2 separate regions of the Homo sapiens genome follow, and region 1 is linked to region 2. The links are contacts of gene promoters, found by promoter capture Hi-C in human tissues and cell types (Jung and others, 2019). All regions are on one chromosome and are shown on one strand. Each heading gives the region's core, a stretch centred on a gene start or on the middle of the fragment in contact. The rest is flanking DNA. Distances are from core to core; before and after follow the strand shown.

Region 1 (5,774 bases), core at 1,106-3,605, 420 kb before region 2:
GATAGGTCCCAAAACAGACCACTTTTTCCTGAAAACAGGAGAGTCCAGTCTACCCAAGTAAGGAAGTCTCCTCTGCTTTAACCCTTATAAAAAAAAACCTGATGTGGGCCGGGCGCAGTGGCTCATGCCTGTAATCTCAGCACTTTGGGAGGCCGAGGCAGGCGGATCACGAGATCAGGAGATCGAGACTATCCTGGCTAACATGGTGAAACCCCATCTCTACTAAAAATACACACACAAAAAATTAGCCAGGTGTGGTGGTGGGCGCCTGTAGTCCCAGCTACTTGGGAGGCTGAGGCAGGAGAATGGCGTGAACCCGGAAGGCAGAGCTTGCAGTGGGCCAAGATGGCGCCACTGCACTCCAGCCTGGGTGACAGAGTGAGACTCTGTCTCAAAAAAAAAAAAAAAAAAAAAAAAAAAAAAAAAAAATCTGATGTTAACCAATCAGGTTTCTTTCTATTGTTCTGTTTCCTGGTTCCCACCTTACAAAACCCACTGTTCTGCTATTGCCCAATGGAAACTTGCATTCTATTTTGTAGAACGGAGGCTGCACCAATTCATGAATCACAAATTAAAGCCAATTGGCTCTATAAGTAAGTTTGCTGTAATTTGTCTTTTGCCACTTGTTATGGATGAACAAGCTTAATACTTATAAAATGCTTAGAGTGATGCCTGGCATACAGTATGAGCTATGTATGTATTTGTTAAGGAAATAAATTTTTAAAAAGCTTTAATGTTACCTCCAAAACACAGCTCAAGTGTACTTCTCTTCAATGCCCAAGACCCATGCCACCTCTCTAGTCTAGCTACTGGGCCCTGTGCTAAAACTACCAACTGGTCTACTGCATCCACTCCCGCCCCCTTCAATCTGTTCTCTACACAGTAGCCAGAATGAGCTTTCCAAAGGGCAAATCTATTCATGAAACAACTTTTCTCCTCAACCCTCATTTAAAATCCCTCCGTAGGCCGAGCACGGTGGCTGATGCCTGTAATCCCAGCACTTTGGGAGGGTGAGGTGGGCGGATCACGAGGTCAGGAGTTCAAGACCAGCCTGGCCAACATAGTGAAACCCCATCTCTACTAAAAATACAAAAATTAGCCAGGCATGGTGGCACATGCCTGTAGTCCCAGCTGCTCAGGAGGCTGAGGCAGGAGAATCGCTTGAACTGGGAGGCAGAGGTTGCAGCGAGCCAAGATAGCGCCACTGCACTCCAGCTGGGGCAACAGAGTGAGACTTTGTCTCAAATAAAATAAAATAAAATAAAATAAAATCCCTCCGTACTTCCTGATGCTTTGAGAGTCAAGATCTCCAATGTGAGGCTCTCCATGGCTGGCCCCATCCACCACCCATCAGTCCGCCCAGCTCACACCCACTCTCTGATTTCCTGCATGTCAGGCTGCCTGGAATGACCCTCCCTCTCTCCCACCTGGGCACTTTCTGAGACTTCTCTTTAGAAGCCTTCCCTTACTCTTCTCAAATTTACCTAGTTAACATTCATGCATCCTTCCCACCTTACCTTTAATGCCCCTTCCCCAGGGAAGCCTTCCCTGATGGCCCCATGCTGGTCTTGGTCTGCCTTTACACACACCCCTGAAGCACCTCTCCCCGACTGCACTTTTTCATAGTTGTACTCTTACATTCAATTGTATGATTAGCACCAGAGGGCAGACTTCTGGATCTCCAGCAAAGTGCCTGGCATATAGTAGGTGCTCAACACCTGAGTGAATGGCTTCTGTGAGAGCAGGAAGGTGAGTGAATGGAAATTTTTTCCTTAAGGCTTACAGGGGCAGCTCCGACCTAGAGACATCCGTTGCAACCTTTCATTCTCACACCCTTCCCAAGGCCGTCACGGTCCATATCTGCACCCCAGTCTGTGCTTATCACACAATACCAGGCCCTGAATACAGCTCTTTAGACCAGCCGTACTGTGAAGCTGACAGCCCTTTCTGCACCTGCAGATGTAACCATACCTGGGCTTCTCCAGGGATGGTCTAAGCCTAGGCTGAGCTCGCCAGGTGCAGTGACTCACAACTGTAATCCCTGCACTTTGGGAGGCCGAGGTGGGTGGATCACCTGAGGTTGGGAGTTCGAGACCAGCCTGACCAACATGGAGAAACCCCGTCTCTACTAAAAATACAAAATTAGCCAGGTGTGGTGGCACGCGCCTATCATCCCAGCTACTTGGGAGGCTGAGGCAGGAGAATTGCTTGAACCCAGGAGGTGGAGGTTGCAGTGAGCCAAGATTGCGCCATTTGCACTCCAGCCTGGGTGACACAGTGAGACTCTGTCTCAAAAAAAAAAAAAAAAAAAAAAAAAAAAAGACTAGGCTGAGCTCTACACAGAGACTATGGCTGTGACTCCCCACCAGGCCTGGGCTGGAATTGAGATTGCTCCAAGTCCTCCAGAAGGGCCCTTGGAAAGACCTGTGGTCCCAGCATCCTCTTTAGCCCCCCATCTCCCCTCTGTGTTTGTAAACTGTCCTACTGGGTCTTTTAGTGGCTTCCTTCTTCAGGACAAGAAAAATGCCCTTCTTTCCTCTCTCCTTCCCAAACAGCCTGACCTAGGGCTCTGCTGGAAAGGTAAGGCCCGATTCAGCACCCTCCCTGTTTTCTCCCCAGGCTTTACCACCCTGCAGCTGCAACTTTAGCCCTGGGAAACAGAGGGGAAGCTGGTAAGTAGAAGCCCTGTTGGGTGTTAATAGGGATGTAGAGCTCCACCTTCCTAGATAAGAGGAGACAGCAGGAGTCCTGCTAGGTTACCTACCCAGGCGAAGGCCACACAGGTGTGGTACATGGGGGAGGAGGCTGGCACGAAGGTGCGGTAGCGGCAGAGCATCACCAGGCTGGCCAGGCCATTGAGAAACGAGGCCACGGCCGATGCCGGCTCTTGAAAGAACAGGAACCGGGAGAAGGGCCACTGAAAAAGGAGCAGATGAAGGAGGTTTGAAGGGCAGGCAACCCTCAACTGGCCCAGTCCACCTATTCTTGACATGCTGAAGCAACAGGTCCTCAGCTGAGTCCTCAGCTCTGGAGTTTGGCCAAAGCCTCAGGTTCAGTACCTCTTCAGACTAATGAGCCACCCTCCAGTGCCTAGTTAAGAGTTATACCCCCATCCTGGCCAGCAGGCACAGCACTGTAAGCCCTGATCTCTGGGAAGACCAGATGGGTCAGGGTAGATGACTCAGTATGGCCTGGTGGAAACAGCACAGAGTTGCCATCCAGAAGACACAGGTCCCAACCCCTCCTCTACCACTGACCACGGTCCTTTGAGCCTCAGCTTACTCTGTGAAAAACTGGGGTGAATACTTCCTGCCAACCTCAACAGGCCAGAATGAGATAATACTGGATTGAAACGTACCAGCAGGCCAGGCGCGGTGGCTCACGCCTGTAATCCCAGCACTTTGGGAAGCTGAGGCGAGAGGGTCACAAGGTCAGGAGATTGAGACCATCCTGGCTAACATGGTGAAACCCCATCTCTACTTAAAAAAAAAAAAAAAAAAATACAAAAAATTAGCTGGGTGTGGTGGCACACACCTGTAGTCCCAGCTACTTGGGAGGCTCAGGCATGAGAATTGCTTGAACCTGGGAGGTAGAGGTTGCAGTGAGCCAAGATCATGCCACTGCACTCCAGCCTGGGCGACAGAGGGAGACTCCATCTCAAAAAAAAAAACAAAAAACAAAAAACAAAAGAAAGAAAGGTACCAGCAAACTGTGCCTCGCTAGACAAGCTGAAGCATATTACTGTGAATCCAGACCCCTACTGGAGAAGCAACAGGAAACAAGCCACAGTAGGTAAGGGAATTTGTCCCTGCAGTAAGGTGGGCATCTCAACCACTCTAAGAGGCCCAGCACCACTCTCTGGGGAGACTCCAAAGCCTTCCAGATATTGCTACTCCAAATCCAGAGGCAGGACACATGGGTCCTATCCAATTCTATGGAAACCAGCAGATTTTGGGGAGAACAGGTAGCTGCCCCAAACACACACGCATTACCCCATGCCTCAGACTGCTTGGACAGTGTGGTCCAACCAGGGGGTATATTACTCCTACCACGCTACTACCATATGCCTACCCTGACCCTCCAACTCACCTTGCCATGGAACTGAGGCACTTTGTGACCTTCCTGGAGGTAGAGCCCAACGGTGACCCACATACACTCATACTTACAGTCGTCCCGACAGGTCCAGCCTGAAACAGACAAATGTGGCCTGGTGAACTCCCCAGCACAGAGAGGAAAGAGAGAGCATGAATGGGGTCCAAGCGCAAATGTAGGCCAAGAGGGCCTGTAAGTTGGAGAGAACCAGGAGAAATCTCAAAATTCTAGCTTCCCCTTTGAATGAATGAGAGATGATGAGATGTACACATAGGGGAAGGTGTATGTACGTATGTATGCATATTTTAGTGAGCAATTAGAGATATTCGTCTTTTTTTTGTTTGTTTTTTTGAGACAGTTTTGTTTTTGTTGCCCAGGCTGGAGTGCAATGGTGCGATCTCGGTTCACTGCAACCTCCGCCTCCTGGGTTCAAGCGATTCTCCTGCCTCAGGCTCCCGAGTAGCTGGGATTACAGGCATGCACCACCACACCCAACTAATTTTGTATTTTTAGTAGAGATGGGGTTTCTCCATGTTGGTCAGGGTGGTCTTGAACTCCCAACCTCAGGTTATCTGCCTGCCTCTGCCACCTAAAGTGCGGGGATTGCAGGCACGAGCCACCGCACCCGGCATTTTTTTTTTTTTTTTTTTTTTGAGACAGGGTCTCGCTCTTTCATCCAGGCTGGAGTGCAGTGGGGAGAGCATGGCTCACCACAGCCTTGACCTCCTGGGCTCAAACGATCCTCCCACCTCAGCCTCCCAAGTAGCGAGACCACAATGTCTGGCTAATTCTTTTATTTTTTGTAGAGAAGGCATCTTGTCATGTTGCCTAGGCTAGTCTTGAACTCCAGGGCTCAGATGATCTTTCTACCTTGGCAGACATTTCCTCTCCTTTTGCTCAAGTCCATCAAGATGTTGGCATCTGATGAACTCATCTATGGAAACCTGGGTTTATATTTGTCCTTCCTGAATATAGGATTTGCTCTTACTCTCCTGGAAGGAGTTCTTGCTATCTTACTCCCTTCCTATGAAAATGAAGCCCAAATTCTTCAACCTGACTTTTGAGGCTCCAAATTGCCTTTCCAACCGTATTGGTCACTACTCCTGTTCATGTACCCTGCTCCCTGAGTAAATAAAGCTCCTGGATGTGCCCACATCTGCCCAGGGCATCCATTCTCTCTGTTCCCTCTGTCTGGAATGCAAAGTGGTATAATAGTAAAGAGGACAAGCTTGTGGTCAAACAGGCCAGAACTGGAAACTCCACTTTACTACATACTGGCTGTGTGACCTTGGGCAGGGCATTTAATCTCTCTAATCCCCATCTGTAAAACTGGGATTAGAGAAACTATCTCAAAGGGTGTGATAAAAATTACTTGACATATTGTGACACCTGTCACACAGTGAGTGCTCAATACGTTGGTTCTTTGCCCACTATGGTCCAAATCGAATGTACCAGTCCAAAGTCCCTCCTTCAAACAAAACGTTCCAAGATGATCCCTGCCCCCACGTCTTCAAAGCCGGAACTGACACCTTCCTATCCCAAATGCTTCCTAATCAAAGAGTCTTTCAGGGGCTCAAATCATTCTCTGCCTTGCACTTGAAAAGGCTCATGTCCCCGTGGGGACTGTGAGTCCCAATGGGCGGGACCCTGGTCTGATTTCTGTGCCATTCCTAGACATTGTG
Region 2 (5,639 bases), core at 697-3,196:
CTAGAGGACATCAACTCCCCTCTTTGGGTCTCAGTTTTCCTTTCTGTGAGAAAAAAAGGACAGTATCATTTCAGCTATGATTGTGGGGTGCAGTTGCTTTGGGGAGCCCTTAGTAGGCAAACTGCAGCTTGTCTGGTGGAGATGGGGGTAAGACAATGCTCGCAGAACTAAGGAGAGAGAAGCTTGGGGAACAGGAATTTGTAATGTGGGGAAGCTGAGTCTAAATGCAGTACGGTGAAGTAGGTGCAAATAAGAGTGAAGTGGAAAGGAGTGAGAAGGGTGGTTAGGGGTGAGGTCTCTTTAGGGAGTGTAAAACAGAAGGCCATGAAAGGTCAGGAATGGCTCCATGTTACTTTGTTTTGGTGATGGGGGAGGGGGCCGGGCAGGCGGACCGGAAAAGGAGGCAGGCGGGGGCGGTGAGTCAGCCCAGCTTCACCCAGATCTCGGCGGGGCGGGGCAGGGCGGGAGCTGGGCCCTCAGCCGGCCTCACGTCCCTGCTCCACGTGTGCCTCTCGCACGTGGCTCCCCAACGAGGAACCCCGGAACTCGAGGCCCCGCCCTCCTCGCTTCCCGTCAATCGAGAGCAGTCGCCCCGCCTCCTACCCGCCCTTCCCCGGCCACCAGGTCGTGGGCTGGACCCCGAACGATAGCAGGGCCAGGACAACCTAGGGGAGGAGAGAAGGGAACACGCGTTGCCGGGGCGACCGGGGGGGCGGAGCTCATTATGTAACGAGGCCGGGAGGCAACGACCAATGGGGTGGCAGCCACGGCTTCTGCTGAATGAAAACAAACGCAGCACGTGGGCCCGGCTCTAGAGCCATGTGAGCCCTCCCGGCGGCCGGAGCCCTGTAGGTGCCCTCCCTCGGGCCGGGCACCACGCTCTGGACTCCTCAAGTGTCGCTCCCTCCTGTCACTGAGGATTCCCCAGTGAGATCCGAACGATTCTCCCAGCCCCTCCTTCCCTGAACCCCATCGCGCCACTCTTCTCAGATTCCCTCGCGCCTGCAGGAACTAGAGGAGGGGGAAGACAAGAGGGGAGGGGGTCCGTTTTCTGAGGCCAGGCATACTACAGCTGCAGGTAGTGGACAGATGGGGCCGTTTCGGGGCACTGTTCCAAAGCTCCCAGTCCCCCTAAATTCTTCGCTTCACCACCCGTACCTCCTCTCCATTTCCTCCTGCCCAGGGATTCGAGGCTCAAGGGAGCTTTGGGACTCTGAGGGGTGGTGATGGGGCGTTTCTGAGAGCATTTCCAGCCCGAACAAGCCGCTCTGGAAATCCCACACTAAAGCACCGCAGCACGTTAGCAAATCTCCGGGCCGAGGGACACCCCAGTCCCTTACAAAGTTCCTCTTTTTATAAGGCGTAGATGGAGGTGGGGAGACAGTGACAGGGAAAAGATGATAGTAAAGAAATCTCAGTACCTGTGTTGTTGTTGGAGTCCAGGGTCGTCATGTCTTCACCAGCTGAGAGCGGTCATTCAAACTGGACCTTGACTCAAACTAGAGGTTGCGATCGCCGCTGTTGCCCCCTGGGCACTGGCTAAGGGCGGGGAGTGGACCCCGCGACTCACGATCAGGATCCGAAGCACCCTGCAGCAAGGTCTTGGGGTGGCCGGACTGCAGCCCTGCAGAAGGGTTGGACGTTGAGGCAACGGAGTTCTGCTTTGCATGGGAAGAGCAGAGAGAGTGTGTAGGGGGAATCAGCCTGCAGTAGTTCTGGCTAGAAGGTAGCAAGGAGGGTCGGGTCTCTGCAGTGTACGGGGTGCCTCTGCCTGCCGGCTCCGCAGCGCTGCGGGGTGGCGAATCTGGAGCTCCCGGTGCAAAAGTCCCAGAGGAAGAGAGGTTGCAACCAGGAAGTAAGTAGGTGATGGGGAGAAACGGGGCACCGAGTCGCAAAGAGGCGAGACGTGTGCCCTGCTACGTTCCCTCGGCAGTAATATTTCACTCTGCCAATCTCAGCCGCCTTTTGCCCGAGCCTTTCCCTGGGACAGAGGGCTCTGCGCAGGCGCCAGCAGCCCAGGGTTCCCGGGCCGCACGCGGCACTGGAGCAGGTACCATGTGATCCCAGGGAGCGCCTCGTGCCCCAGTGACACACTTTTCCAACAGCCGGCACGTTGAGCTCTTGCGCGCCTGCGCAACGACAAGACTGTCGGGATTTGTAGTCCACCGACAAAGTGGGCGGACTGCGTGCCTTTCCCCTTTCTGCCTGGCAAAGCGCTTGCCGGGACCTGGGAGGAGCTGAGAGTGGGGTGGGGTGGGGTGCGCTGAAGAGTCAGGGTGGCGTGTTTAGAAAGCCTGTATGGCAGGGGCATGTGAATTTCTGGGGAGGGACTGGCAAGCTTGTTTGCTGTCTGGGAGATCAAAGCTAAGAGGCCCTTTCTGCAAACCTTGCAAACGTGAGGGCTTCACGTGATTGCAGGACTGACCTCGTCCTGAGGTTACTGGTGACCGGGAGAGAGAGAAGCCGGGGAGGGAGATTTCCCTGGAGTCAGGAGCTTAGGCTGCCCTCTGCTTCAGGGCAAAGTCCAGAGAAGGAAAGGAAATGTGACCCCCTTTCCCTTCTACTCGCCTTAGGGAGAACACCTCCAGGGGAAGGAGTTCCCACAGAGGTAGGGATGTCTGTAGGGACTCCCTGTTTGCTTGTATGACACCATTCCACCCACTCCAGTTGACTTTGGGGTGAGTCATTTCCCTTTGTCTGGGAAATAAAAAGGACAACAGAGGGGAACTAATAGTGAAAGTGCTTTGAGGTCCTAAAGTAATGGGGAAGAGGTGAGGCAGGGGGTGGGGGCAGAGTGACACCCCTGCCCCTCGGTGCTGGAGGATAAAATATGAATTCCACAGAAGATTACTACTCAGAGGGGAACATGTAGATCATCTTAAGCCTCCCTCTTTTTACTAGTGGGGAACAGGAAGCTTAGGAGAAGTGACCGACCCAAGGTCAGACGTCCATTGCTAGTTTCATCTGCCCACCCCGAATGGGAAGGTGGGTAGATGTACAAGTGAAATACTGAACAGGGGTTAGAAACAGCCAGCATTGCCGGGTGCTTTGGCTCATGCCTGTAATCCCAGCACTTTGTGAGGCTGAGGTGGGTTGATCACCTGAGGTCAGGAGTTTGAGACCAGCCTGACCAACACGGTGAAACCACGTCTCTACTAAAAATACAAAAATTAGCCGGATGTGGTGGTGGGTGCCTGTAATCCCAGCTAGTCAGGAGGCTGAGGCAGGAGAATCGCTAGAACCCGGGAGGTGGAGGTTGCAGTGAGCCGAGATCGCCATTGCACTCCGGCCTGGGGGATAGAGTGAGACTCTGTCTCCAAAACAAACAAACAAAAAACAGCCAGTATTTCGCTTCAGAGCAGCAACTGTCCCATGAGTAATAACAGATCTCAAGTAGAGGAGATCTATCATGTTAGAGGGCTTGGGTCATGGAGGGGATGGAAGCTTCTTAGGCAGCGAAGGGAGAGGGAGCCTGAGCCACCTGCTGCTCCCGCTAATTCCTCCCCAGTCCCAGTGCTTCTAGAGAGGGTTTTCTTCACATAGGAAGCCCTTCTCCACAGGCAGCTCCTGGGATGGTATTGATGGATGCCTGGGAAACATGAAAGCCACCGAAAAGGTAGAGAAAAAGAATATGGGAGTCCGGGGGTGGTGGCTGACACCTGTAATCCCAGCATTTTGGGAGGCTGAAGTGGGCAGATCACCTGAGGTCAGGAGTTCGAGACCAGCCTGGCCAACATGGTGAAACCCCATCTCTACTAAAAATACAAAAATTAGCTGGGCGTGGTGGCGCACGCCTGTAGTCCCAGCCACTCGGGAGGCTGAGGCAGGAGAATTGCTTGAACCCAGGAGATGGAGATTGCAGTGAGCCGAGATCATGCCACTGCACAACAGCCTGGGCAACAGGGTGAGAGTCCATCTCAAAGAAAAAAAAAAAAGGCCAAGTGTGGTGGTGGCTCACACCTGTAATCCCAGCACTTGGGGAGGCCGAGGCAGGTGGATCACCCGAGGTCAGGAGTTTGAGACCAGCCTGGCCAACATGGAGAAACCTCGTCTCTACTAAAAATACAAAAATTAGCTGGGCGTGGTGGCGCACGCCTGTAGTCCCAGCTACTCTACTCGGGAGGCTGAGGCAGGAGAATTGCTTGAACCCGGGAGGCAGAGGTTGCAGTGACCTGAGATCGCGCCAGTGCACTCCAGCATGGGCAACAAGACCGAAACTCCATCTCAAAAAAAGAAAAAAAAAAAAAGAATAATAATATGAGCACAGGAGTAAACTGGGTAGTGAGGACAGTGAGGTTGACTGCAGGAGCTTGACCACTCACCCTCTGACTCCTTGTAGAAGATGAGCTTCCTGGAATGGGCTAGGCTTTAGCTTTGTTCTCCTGCTCCCAAGAAAAGTGGGAGAGAGAGGGCAGTGGGCTCTTCTCTGGCCCTTTGGCCCAGAGTTGGGAAGCTGCAGCAGAGTGTGGGAGCAACTGGGAGGGGCTAAAACAAACAAGGAAAGAGGCTTTTCAGGAAAACTTGGTTCTCAGCCTCCACCCCCTCTCCCTCCACCCTCTGGGCTCTGGAGGGAAAGCTAGGAGGTGAATTGCCCTGTCCTGCCCTTGCCTGCTCTCTGTGACCTTGACTCCAAGTCAGAGCCAGGGCCAGAGCCCAGGTGTCTGTCAGGGCTGGACTCAAAATCAGGACCCCTGGCGTGCATCTAGCTCCCCACAGCACAGCACCACCACTAGCACCCTCCCTTTACTTGGCCGGGGTCCTCCCCAAGGCCCACAGCTCTGTTTGCTGCTGTGGAGGTCCTACCCACCCCCTGTATACTTGCTGGATGTTTGTTCTTCTAGGAGTGGGAGCTGGGGTGGGTCAAGACTCCTCGCCTGCTGCAATCAGTGAGAAGGAGGAGGGAGCAGAGGTAGAGAGAGCTGAAATTCAGTCAGCCTGACTCTCCTCTTGGCAAAACCTGGGTGGTTCTGCAGTCTGTGTGTGGTGTGAAGGCAGAGGCTGGGAGGGAGGGGGCAAAGGAGAGGGGTTACCCCCTTGCTCCTTCCTTCCTTCCTTTCCATTTCTTATAGGGCCCTTCCTTTTCTCCCTCACAAGTAATTCGGGTGTCTTTCTTCTACAGCTGGTGAGAGGAGTACAGAATGAAAAGGCAGGGTTCTCTCTTGGCCCCAGAAGCTTCTAGTCAGTCTGTGTACCCTGCTCCTTTCTCTGTCAGCAGCTGCTGGGAGAAGGGCAGAAACTCTGAGACCCAAAGCCACCAAAGGGAGGGGGGAAAGGCTGGGTTGTCTGGCTCTGGGTGATTCGGAGTAGAATCTTGGTTTCTCTTTGACCTCAACCTTGGCTGTAAGACCTTAAGACAACAGGTGTATCTCAACACAACCTTCCTCACCTATCCCTCCAGCTGGACATTGCTGTTCACTTCTTTTTTTTTTTGAGACAGAGTCCCACTCTATCGCCCAGGCTGGAGTGCAGTGGCTCACTGCAACCTCCACCTTCCGGGTTTAAGCCATTCTCCTGTCTCAGCGTCCCAAGTTGCTGGGACTGCAGGAGCACGCCACAATGCCTGGCTAATTTTTTTTATATTTTTAGTAGAGATGGGGTTTCACCATATTAGTCAGGCTGGTCTTGAACTCCTGACCTAA

Evidence for each region. The method cuts DNA at HindIII sites, captures the fragments that hold promoters and counts their contacts. A contact is called where the count stands out against the background at its distance.
Region 1: a contact is called between a fragment that was not itself captured here and the fragment with the promoter of NR1D1 in region 2, in 1 of the 25 tissues and cell types used here (lymphoblastoid cells).

The regions. Positions count from the first base shown.
Region 1 is chr17:39,681,833-39,687,606 of GRCh38, forward strand. PGAP3 (post-GPI attachment to proteins phospholipase 3) reads right to left here. Exons shown (of 8, transcript NM_033419.5): 2 at 4,090-4,187; 3 at 2,765-2,917. Among named protein-coding and RNA genes, the nearest start is that of PGAP3, 3.3 kb to the right of the region's middle. The HindIII fragment of the contact is 6,437 bases long and covers 1-5,574 here.
Region 2 is chr17:40,098,643-40,104,281 of GRCh38, forward strand. It overlaps NR1D1 (nuclear receptor subfamily 1 group D member 1), which reads right to left and starts at 1,947. Exons shown (of 8, transcript NM_021724.5): 1 at 1,422-1,947. The coding sequence starts at 1,452. RefSeq lists enhancers at 91-1,290, 209-1,193, 1,194-2,177, 1,643-1,712, 2,193-2,312 and 1 more and silencers at 412-761, 772-861. The HindIII fragment of the contact is 7,590 bases long and covers 1-2,626 here.